2 separate regions of the Homo sapiens genome follow, and region 1 is linked to region 2. Evidence: promoter capture Hi-C in 16 types of primary human blood cells and fetal thymus (Javierre and others, 2016). All regions are on one chromosome and are shown on one strand. Each heading gives the region's core, a stretch centred on a gene start or on the middle of the fragment in contact. The rest is flanking DNA. Distances are from core to core; before and after follow the strand shown.

Region 1 (5,839 bases), core at 1,509-4,008, 250 kb before region 2:
CTGAGAACACGACTCAGCACATGGGGAGAATACAGTTGAGCCTGGGGCCTGGCGCCCTTAGCTCTAGCTCTGGCTCCAGTGCTCACTTGCTGGGTTATCCCAGGGCAAGGTCCCGATCCCTGGGCCTCAGGCTCCTCCTGGACAAAGTGGGAAGTGCCCTGCACCCCTCCGGGGCTCTGCTTTCTAGCTCCAGCCTCACTAGGCACCCACTGCCCTGGCAGGAGCTAGGCCCCGTCAGATCAGGCTCTTTGTGCACGATGGTCCTTCTGCTGGGGTCTCTTGACACCACCCGCTCCTTTCGACTTGGCCAGCTCCTCCCTATTCATCCTTCAGGGCTCCCAGGCGATGCTCCTGCAAGATTGTACACCAGCCTCCCCCACCAGACAGTCAACTCCGTGAGGGCAGGAACACTGCATTTGCCTCCCCATCCAAACTCACATGCCTCCTGGTGGGATCCCTGGCATGTAGGAGACAGACTGATGACTAGACGAAGCTCATGACCACATCCAGCACGGCCAGGGCTCAGACCTGCATCACACCATGGGATCCTCCCACCCCACCAAACCATTGCCATTGTTGCTAGCTTGAACTGACTAGTCTTCATCTTCCAATTGAGTTCCAATTTCTCTGCTAGAGAAAAATGCTGTTTTTCTTTCATACAAATATTGTGGAGGTTTCCAGTAGATGGGCAACCCTTCCTATTATAAAAGGGTGGAAGCTTGGTCCATCACTGACTACCCCTTGTGCCATTGAAGCCCCCACAAAAGAAAAATGGGGTTGGGCGTGGTGGCTTATGCCTTGTGACCTCAGCACTTTGGGAGGCCAAGGTGGGAGGATGGCTTACGGCTAGGAGTTCAAGCCCAGCCTGGGCAACATACTGAGACCGCATCTACCAAAAGAAAAAAAAAGAAGTGGGAGGATCCCTTGAGCCCTAGAGTTCGAGGCTGCAGTGAGCTATGATCGCCACTGTGCTCAAGCCTGGGCAACAAAGCAAGACCGTTTCAAAACAAAAATAAAAAGGCTTGGAGCTTTTGGACTATAGGAGAGAGGTGTCCTCAGCAGCTCACCATCGAGCCATCTGAGTGCTTGCTTCCTTATCCTCCACAGTGGAGCCCAGGGGTGCCTCTCCCACCCCCAGCATGCACAGGCCCCAAAGCCCCTCACCTGTCTCTGCCCCCTTACGCAGGTGGGCACACTCACTCTAGCATCCAGAACGGTCACCTTGCCTGTGGAGAAAAAAAAAAAGACGTCAGCCACGCACTTACTGGGCTCCTGCTATGTGCCAGGCACTGGGACACGGGACGAACAGCCAGAGACAGCCCAGCCGCTATGATGCTTCCACTCTATTGGACGAGGCCGACAATGTACAGCGTTGGGTTGTGATAAGGCACTGAGAGATGACAATTAAGCAGAGACCTGAATGAAGTCCAGATGAAATCCTGGAATGGGAAAGCATTTGGGACAGCAGAAAGAGCCAGTGCAAAGGTCCCCATCTCTCAGCCAGGAATCATCAGACAACAGAGGAGACTGAAAAGTCACACCTGGTACTTTACAACCCGGTTCTACAACATACATTGTCTTGCCTCGTGCTCAACAGTTAACCACAACAATGTTAAATGCTATTATCAGTGCCTGTGTTTCAGATGAGGAAACCGAGGAACAGAAAGTTACACTTGCACACACTGTGTTTACCCAGTGTGATGAATAGCACAGGCGCTTTCTTCCACACCATCCCATCCAGTTCTCCTAACAACCCTGGAAGGGGAGCACCCGCCTGCGGGAGGAGGCAGGCTCTGGGGCAGAGGATATTGCCCAAGTCACATGACTACTTCACAAAGCACACCAGACAGGCCTAGATTTTCCCACTCCTCTGCACACACCCAAGCTTCACTGTAAGCTCCACAGTAAAACAGACATTTAAGCTCCGTACAGCCCTAAGGCTCCCTGGAGGCTAGAAACTTGGGCTAGAAATCTGACACTAAAGAATCTCTTTTCTCTTGTTCTCACTTGTAAAACAGGGATAAGAACACTTAGCCCAAAGGGTTGTTGGAGGACAAAATGAGATAATATATGTAGAGTGTCTGGCGTGAATTCCATAAATGGAGACTTTTCATATCATCACCTGCTGACAGAGGCACAGTACAAAGCTATGGGGTTGTTGTGGAGCCTGCTGCTACCTTGTCCGTTCACACAGAGGCCGACTCCGAGTCCCAGGGCCCTTACCCAGGGGTCTCCGCTATAGGGGCACCTGAAGATCTCAGAATGCTGCTCTGCCCACCCTGCCCTCAGAGGCCTCCTCTCCAACTCCTCCCAGCCGGCCCTCCAGCCCCAGGGCCAGCCTTGCCTTCCCTCTTCTCTTCTATACCCCAGAAAGAGAAGCAGCTGGATGTTTGGGGGCTGGGATTACAGTGAAAAGAGAGAATGCTTCTTCGTGTGTGTGTGTGTGTGTGTGTGTGTGTACACAACAGTGGGAAGGGGACTTCTGAAAACACTTGGAGGAAAAGGAAGACCTGTTTAATACTGATTTTTTTATTTTTTAAAGAGACAGGGTCTCACCTCACTGCCCAGGCTGGAGTTCAGTGGCACGTTCATAGCTCACTGCATCCTTGGCCTCCTGGGCTCAAGTGATCTCCTGCCTTAGCCTCCCAAGTGGCTGGGATGAGAGGCACGAGTCACTGTGCCTGGCCTCTAATGCTTATTGTTAATACTGTATAATAATCTGAAGTTTTTTATTTTAACATCATAAAAATGTATCATATTTAACTTGGTTTGCTCATAACATTATCACGTTTGATAGACTTAGAAATATACAGGCCTGGAAAAAAAATGAAAAATATTTAAGAATTATCTTCCTTCCCACACTCAAATGGGGTGAAACCCAGAATGTCTCAGGTCACCTCCAGCATCTGACCAGTGCCACCCTCACCCACAACTCTGGTCTCTGGGCCACTGTCCTCCCACTGCCTGCAGCAACCTGCCCATCGGTCCCCAGCGTGTCCCTCAATCCCCTCACCATCAGAGGGGCTAGGGTGTGGCTGAGGTATGCTGTGGAGGAAGAGAAAAAAGTTGGGAGGGTGAGGGAAAGGAATGGGATGAAGAAGGCAGCATTCGGGGTCTGGAAAAGGATAACGCTAAGGACCGGGAAACCCTAAGATTTGTGTTCTTCACAAGAAAGCAACAACGAAACAATGTAGAGTATCTTTTCCCAAAATAATAAAAAAGCATCCAGGTTAAGAGCAAGGCCAGGCTGTGAGGACTGGCTGCGGACTCTCTATGTGTGCACGCAGTGGTTTTCTGTGTTGAGGAGCATGGAGACCCCACACACTCCACACAAAGCCAGGCATGGCCCCGATCCACAGCTGAGCCCCTGTGAATCCCAGGCCAGGAGGCCCGAGTTCCACTGAGAATGGGGGAGACCCTCCGATTTATGAGCCAGCCAGTGGTCACAGTTCTTCTTCTCAGAGTGCCCCAGCTGGAGTGGGGCTAGGACTCAGCCCCTCTTCAGGAGAAATACTTTCTGGCCTCACAGCGAGGGGGTCTGGGGTCAGCCCAGGATGAGGGGGCCTCCTCTGCATCTGCAGGGCCGTCACAGTGGAGGGCAGGAAGCTGTCACGGGGAAGAGACCTGCAGGAAAGCTTGGTGGTGGGGAGGAGCACGGGCCATGAGAGTCGGCCCAGAGTCTGAGTTCAAGATTTCTAAAGAAAACTTCCTGCGTCCTTACCCTTCTCTAGGGAAGGTCAAGATCCAGAGAGAGACCACCACCACCAGCTCCAAATCGAAGCCAAGTCAGGAATGTGGCCCTCTGGAGTCTGGGCTTTCTGCCTGCCTCTCATGGGGGATGCCTGCCCAGGCAGGCTTCGCAGTGGTGGTCCCTGCTGCCTCCCCAGGGGCTGAGCACCGCCTCCTCCCTCAGGACCCACAGCTCCTGCTCACAGCCATGAGCTCAGCCCGACCTGGGGCAGGGAAAACCCCAGGCTTCGGGTTTTTGGAATGGCTCTGGTTTCAGACATTCCTCTGGTGGCCCCAACACGTCTGGGACGCTGGGTCTGGACACACAGTGCCGGCCAGGCAGGGTCTGGGAACTCTAACTTGAACTGGAGGCTTCTCCCGCCGGAATTGCCATCCACAAAGGCCTGATTCTGAGGGAGGTGACCTCAGTGCAGGGGGAGGGAGAGAAGGAGGGGGGAGAAGAGCGGAGTCCTCTCTGGCTCGTCCTTCAGAGGGTGTGGGGAGGGGGCCAGTTTTCAGGCAGCCAGGGCCGAGGAAGGAGGAAACTTGCTCAGGGGTCTCTGGGTAACCTGGGCGACCACCATCTCTTCAGCCAAGTCAGTCACGGAGGGCCCCAGCTCTCCCTTCCCCCTTAAAGCCAGGAGGGGACAGGGGCTTTCAGGGCCTCCAAAGAGATCTTACTGTCCTGGCCTTTCAGTTAGCCAGACCAGAAGGGGTCTGTGGCTCCTACCTCCTCTCCAGCAGGGCACAGGCAAGACCCCTCCCTGAACAGAGACCAGGCATGGGAGGAAGGGGCTGGAGAGGCAGGCGGCAGCAAGCCTGTCCTCATTCCCTCACCCCGGCCCTTAGCCAAGGCCTCCTGGCCCCTGGTGAGCCCCTCATTCACCAGCTGTTCCCCCCAGAGTCCTCTAGGGAGAGAAGCCAGGGACCAGGAGTGGGGGAGGGTGGGCAGCTGTAGGAAGGCAGAGATGGAGAGCTCACTTAATCACAGAATCACCCGTAACACCAACCGCTTCCCTCCGCACCCTCCCCAGCTGCTTTCTGGAATCCCTCTTACCCTCCCAGCCCTTTTACCAGTCACACCCAAGAATCCACTTGTAAACAGCAACTTCTGTCCCCACAGCAAACACCCTTTCCAGCCAAGATCAGCCCTGGGCTGCTGAGGAGTGTGGGGAGGGATAGGAGGACTGAGGCCTGGCTCCCAGGGCACTTCTAGCCTGAAAGGGGCCACTTAATCCCTGACCCAAAGCATCTTTCAGCCCTGAGAATTCCAACTGGTCTCCTCCCCATTCAGGGTAAGAGGGCAGACAAGAATTTCCTTCCCTCCTCCTGACAACTGGTACTGGAGACACAATAGCCCTTCTGAGAGGCATCTGTCTTGGAAGGGGCCCCCTACATCCCCCCAACTTCCGTTTCACAGGCACTCCAAGCACCTCAACCACCATGGTGTGAGTTCTTCCAAACCAGCTGCAGGATAGGTCCTCGGCCCTTCCAGGAAGGGAAGAAGGAAGGGCAGTCGTGTTATAAGCCCCAAAGGCCTCCAGATTTCAACATCCCTCATCTCCCCTCCCTCAGAGCCCTCCTGCTCCCTGTCCACAGCATAACCCAGTAACAAAACTAGCAGCTGCCGGGGGTGGGGGGAGGGAAGGGGGTGGGGAGAGGGAAGGGGTGCCGACACAATGGGTTTATTTATAGGACCACACACCAGGGGCTCTGCAGCCAAGTGGCCCAGGCCCCACTCCCAAAAGTCCAGCCCAGGCCGTCCTAGCCCAGCCGAGGGTACTGGAAACAGCCTTAGACCGGAAGGCAGAAGAGTCTAGGCATGGAGTCCAGTTCGAACTCTGCAATTAACTTATGTGCTGTGTGACTAGGCAAATCATTCCGTCTCCCCGAGATGAGTTTCTTCACGCCAAGTGGTTGTTGTTCTGCCACAGTGGTTCCCACAGTGGGGCCTAGGCACCCTGTGGCCCTCTCCAGGGGTCTGTAAGGTCAAAGCTGTTTTCCTAATACTACTACTAAGACACTATCTGCCTTTATTACTCTCATTCTCTCCTGAGTGTACAGTGGCATTTTCCAGATACTATGCTGTGTGATACCGCAAAAGATTGAA
Region 2 (5,724 bases), core at 2,753-5,252:
AGGTCTAAGGACTGCAGGGTCCAGAGAAAACGAAGCATGGAGAAGAAGCTGGGAGGATGCTGAAGGAGCCAGTATCCTCTGTCAGGACTTGGACAAGGGGTGGGTGGGCCAGAGAAGCAGAAAGAAGTAATGAGACACTAATCACAGCCCTTGGATCCCTCAAGTGTTATCTTACTAAGGCCCTGCCAACACCAACTTCCTCTTTTCCTCATCCTTGTCCCACAAACCCCTGTCAGAGTGACTGCCCCCCTGCCTCTCTCTGCTGGCAGCCCTGGCTCAGCCTTCTATTTCACTCCTGGCCCTTGCACTAGAGTCACAAGTCAACATGTTTGTCTCTCTTTCCACACTGGGATATTTTGAGGCAAGGACTCTGCCAATCCTCACCATGTCCACAGGGCCAATCTTGGGGCTTGATCCAGGAAAACCCTCGGTGAAGGTTTGCTGCGATGTACAGGGTAGGGATGAGGGGATGTGTGTGTGCAAGGACCCATCACTTCTCAAACGAAGAAGAAACAACAGCATGAGGGATTTAGGTTGTATATAAGAAAGAACTTCCTAAGACTGGGGCCTGTGACACTATGAAACCATAATTCAGACCCATAAGTTCTGAAGAGCAAGGTTGCTCAAGATTGGCTATATGTTAAAGGCCTCAAAAAGTTGGGCGATTGTCCGGGCGCAGTGGCTCATGCCTGTAATCCCAGCACTTTGGGAGGCCAAGGTGGGTGGATCACCTGAGGTCGGGAGTTCAAGCCTACATGGTGAAACCCCCAGCTCTACAAAAGATACAAAAAATTAGCCGGGCGTCGTGGTGTGCGCCTGTAATCCCAGCTACTCGGGAGGCTGAGGCAGAAGAACCTCTTGAACCGGGGAGGCGGAGGTTGCAGTGAGCCGAGATTGTGCCATTGCACTCCAGCCTGGGCGACAGGGTGAGACCCCAACTTAAAAAAAAAAAAAAAAAAAAAGGCCGGGTATGGTGGCTCACGCCTATAATCCCAGCACTTTGGGAGGCTGAGACGGGTGGATCACAAGGTCAGGAGATTGAGACCATCCTGGCTAACACGGTGAAACCCCGTCTCTACTAAAAATACAAAAAACTTTGCCAGGTGTAGTGGCGGGTGCCTGTAGTCCCAGCTACTTGGGAGGCTGAGGCAGGAGAATGGCGTGAACCCAGGAGACTGAGCTTGCAGTGAGCCAAGATCGCGCCACAGCCCCAGAGATTCTGATTTAACTGGTCTAAAGTGGAGCCATGGCATTGCAGTTTTTTTTTTTTTTTTCTGAGACAGAGTCTCGCTCTGTTGCCCAGGCTAGAGTGCAGTGGCACGATCTCCGATCACTGCAACCTCTGTCTCCCGGGTTCAAGCACTTCTGCCTCAGCCTCCTGAGTAGCTGGGATTACAGGTGCGTGCCACCACGCCTGGCTAATTTTTGTATTTTCTGTGGAGGCAGGGTTTCACCATGTTGGCCAGGTTGGTCTCCTGACCTCAGGTGATCCACTCACCTCGGCCTCCCAAAGTGCTGGGATTGCAGGCGTGAGCCACCACGCCTGGCTGGCATTGCAGTTTTATCTTATTATTTTTATTTTTTGAAATGGAGTTTCGCTCTTGTCTCCCCGGCTAGAGTGCAATAGCACAATCTCGGCTCACTGCAACCTCCGCCTCCCAGGTTCAAATGATTCTCCTGCCTCAGCCTCTCGAGTAGCTGGGATTACAGGTGCCCGCCACCACGCCCAGCTACTTTTTGTATTTTTAGTAGAGATGGGTTTCACCATGTTGGCCAGGTTGGTCTCAAACTCCTGACCTCAGGCGATCCACCCTCCTCTGCCTCCCAAAGTGCTGGGATTACAGGAGTGAGCCACCGCGCCCAGCTGGCATTGCAGTTTTAAAAGCTCCCCAGGTGATTCGAATGTGCAGCCTGGGTTAAGAACCAGTGCCTTAGATTCTGCCCTGGTTTGGCTGCACTGGTGGTTTTACCACTAGATCCAAATGCTAATACTAATAATAGTTATTTACTTATTGGGATTTACTAGGTACATGCCAATGTACTAAGCACTTTCCATGCGTTAGCTCATGTAATCCTCGAAAAATCCTGTGAAATAAATATTATCTCTGCCTTACAGATGAGGAAACCGAGGTCCAGAGAGGTCAAGGGGCCTGCCTATGCTAATGAATGGCAGGGCCAGGTCTGGAAGCTGATTCTCCTGATTCATACCTTCTGTCTTCCCCCAGACTCCTCCTGAGGCTGCTCCTTGGCCTCAATCAGTCCTCGCCTGCCTCCACCTCACCTCATCACCTTCCCTCCACCCCCGCTGCTCCCTCAGTAACATCCCAGGTGACTGAAGCAATTGCAGCCATTTGAAGAGGCTCCACGTGTCAGTCAGCCTGCGAGCCGCGGGGAGGTGGGGAAATTACAGATGCTCCAAAATAGTGTTCCCCTCCCCCTGAGGATATTTGGAATTCAGGAATCAGACTCTGCCTGATGCTTCCTCAGGTCTCTGGGACCCTCCCAGGTGATTTCCCACTCTCAAATGCCCCCCACGAGTTGATTCTAAGTATCTGGGAGAGGGCTGCCACCCAGTGGCTGCCCGGGGGCATAGCAACCCTCCAGCACTGCCTGGTACCGCTGAACAGCTCCCCAAGACCTGAATGGAAGATCCTCCCTTCCTTTTGGCAGCTCCGTGTCCAGTCCCCTAGTAAATGGATCTCGACCTCCCTCCTCCACAATCTTAAGTCCACTCTCCCACTAGGGACCTCCAGACCCCTTCTCTGGTTTCCTAGATGTCCACTACTCCCAACTTCTCATCCAACTTCTTTCCAATGTGCCATCCCCTTCTCGTTACAGGTTTTCTTCTAACTTAAAGCCCGGCACCATGTCCTAGGAATACACCTCTCACCATCCTTCTCCCCGAGCCGCACCAGCCTGCAAGTAGAGCGAAGGAGCCACTAGAGACAGAACTCTGGTCCCCCGCACCCTCCTCCTCATCATCTGACACCATCAGACCTCAACAGCCTCTGTGCTAAGAGCCCCTAATGAGCATCAGCAAATTAACAACTTCCCCTTGATTGCTCCTTCTCTGTTAATTGGATAGGGAGGGCCCCCCTCCCCAAGGCCTCTCAGAGAAGAGGAGGGAGGCAGGGAAGGAGAAAGGTGAGAGCCACAGGAGCAGCCCCCAGGCCTGCGTTCTGTGCTGAGACTTCTGCTCCATCCCTGAGCATAGCTCCCCGTTCCAACCCTTCCTCACCCTGTCCCCTTCACTCCCTTTGCCTCCTTCCTTCTGTCCAAATTCCCTTGACCTCTGGCTATTTTTCCTTCCTTTTCTCTGCTCCTTCTTTGGAGATTTGGCAGTAAGGGGTTGCGACCATGCCCCCCACAAGCCCAAAGCTACAAGGATGGGATCTGAGTGGTCAAGGCTGCGTGTTGGCTCACATATGTGCACGTGTATATGTGTCACATGCAGGTGGGAGCAGGGATAAGAGCAGGTGAGTGCTTGCCATGTGGGTCAGGCCCCCGGGATACGTGGACATCTGTTGCGGGGGGGTGTGGTTGTGAATGGTGTGGTGTGACTCTGGTCGGTATGTGTGTCTGTCTCCATATGGGCTAAGTGCTTGAATTAGTCAAGTGTGACTCGGAGCGTGTGTGTGTATGTGTGTGTGTACGCGCGTGTGTGCCACCAGAGGAAGCAGCAGCAAGAGGCAGGAGCATCGATCCGAAGGAGACAGCGCGGGGAGAGGGACGCTAGGGGCAGACACCCTCCCTCCTGCGCGCACACACGCGCGCGCGCACACACACCACACACAGAGTCATACACACAAGCCATAGGGCCTCGCAGGCAGGGAGACGGCTCCGGGACTGGAGAGAGGCAGCGCCGCCGAAAGCGGCCGCGAGGAGGGGCGAGGCGGCGCGGGGAGCCCTGGGTCCCGCTCCCGGATCCGGGGCCCCGCGCGCACACCAGCCCAGAGACAGCCTCGCAGACACTCGTAGGCGCGCACGCGCACCCTCTCCCCTCCCCCTCCCCTCCCGCCGCCTCCCGGCCGGACGATGGATCCCTGCAGATCCCAGGGCTGAGAGCACCGCGCACCGCGCCGAGCCCGGGCAGACCGAGCCGAGGCGAGCGAGCCAGCGAGCCAGCGCGCGCGGGCGGGCGGACAGATCGGAGCCGAGCGGGGCCGGGCGGGGCGCTCCCTGCAGGGCTCTGCGCGGCGTGCCGCGGCGGCCGCGGGCTCCGGCCCCGGGCCATGAGCCCCTCCGCGACTCGGCGCTGAGCCCGCCACCGGTCCAGCGCCCCAGGACCCGCCGCCGGCTGCCGGCTTGCCGAAGCCCCCTCAGGTGGGTTTCCGATACCCCTGCCTTTGGCCGCGAGGCTCCTCGGTACCCCGAAGCCGGGACTCTCCTCCCTCTGGATTTCCCTTGCTGCTGGGGCGGCTCGGTGGCTGGGGAGGGGGGCGGGGGCCGAGCTGGGGATCTGACTGCGACGAGAAGCTGGACTGGGGGGGGCTGCGTCCGGGGCGGGGACAGCTCGCTGTCATAGGGAACCGCGCCCCCCCTCCATACATCCACCTCGGGCAGCCCGCCACCCCCCACTCCCAACATACACACAGCCTGCGCTTATGTGAGAACTGGAGACACCCGCAGGTGAGGACTCAGGCTGGGCCCCTCCCTAGATGTAGCCACCTCCCTGGGGGTTTTCTGGCCCCAGTTTAGCCCTTAGGACCACAGCCCCGTCCAGGGAATACCCGTGACCAGGACAGGAGCTCCTTACCCCGGGGTCAGCCCATCTGGGTGAGTTTTCATCTCCAGGATGGGGTGGATATTCTTGTCCCAGAGTGACCCCACATCTGGAGGGAACTCCTGCGCCTGCCTATGGGTGCATCAGGACTTCCCCCTCAACCTCGGATGACTATATCTGGGGTCTCCCCGGGCCTGGGAAGCTTCTCTGGGGAGCATTCTCTTGGCCTGACCTGACCCCCTGTGCCTCTGTATTTGGAGGAACCCTGGATGTGTCCCTTGGTCAGCCACCTCTGGGCTTGCAAAGCAGGGAAGTCTTCTGCCCGAGGAGTGGTGACCTCTGGAGATGAGGATTCTGGATGGGCACATGTGGAGGGGCTCCATGTGTACTTTCATCCCAGGACAATGATAGACTGTCCCTCCCTCCTCCCCCAGGATCCCCTCAACAAGGATGGAACTGAAGGCCGAGGAGGAGGAGGTGGGTGGCGTCCAGCCGGTGAGCATCCAGGCCTTCGCCAGCAGCTCCACACTGCACGGCCTGGCCCACATCTTCTCCTACGAGCGGCTGTCTCTGAAGCGGGCACTGTGGGCCCTGTGCTTCCTGGGCTCCCTGGCTGTGCTGCTGTGTGTGTGCACGGAGCGTGTGCAGTACTACTTCCACTACCACCATGTCACCAAGCTCGACGAGGTGGCTGCCTCTCAGCTTACCTTCCCTGCTGTCACGCTGTGCAACCTCAACGAGTTCCGCTTTAGCCAAGTCTCCAAGAATGACCTGTATCATGCTGGGGAGCTGCTGGCCCTGCTCAACAACAGGTGGGTGGCTCCCACCCTCCCTCAGCCCTGCTCCTGGAGTTGCTTGAGTTCCAGTCAGGATGTCTGCCTCCCTGACCCACCATAGAGCCCAGCCAACCCTGCCCTTTAACCCACCCCCACCCCCAAACCTGCCACTCACAGCAGAGGAGTTAGGGTGCTGCTGAGCACCCAGTTAAGGGCACCCAGCCT

Evidence for each region. Contacts are between HindIII fragments. The CHiCAGO score rates a contact against its expected background, and 5 or more counts as called.
Region 1: a fragment that was not itself captured here is called in contact with the fragment with the promoter of ASIC1 in region 2 in 1 of 17 cell types (endothelial precursors); the score reaches 5.2 in endothelial precursors.

Annotation. Positions count from the first base shown.
Region 1 is chr12:49,804,816-49,810,654 of GRCh38, forward strand. It overlaps NCKAP5L (NCK associated protein 5 like), which reads right to left. Exons shown (of 13, transcript NM_001037806.4): 2 at 1,165-1,226. Among named protein-coding and RNA genes, the nearest start is that of NCKAP5L, 21 kb to the right of the region's middle. The HindIII fragment of the contact is 1,750 bases long and covers 1,884-3,633 here.
Region 2 is chr12:50,053,594-50,059,317 of GRCh38, forward strand. It overlaps ASIC1 (acid sensing ion channel subunit 1), which reads left to right and starts at 4,003. Exons shown (of 12, transcript NM_001095.4): 1 at 4,003-4,323; 2 at 5,158-5,535. The coding sequence starts at 5,174. RefSeq lists silencers at 3,806-3,965, 4,036-4,205. The HindIII fragment of the contact is 9,166 bases long and covers 1-4,923 here.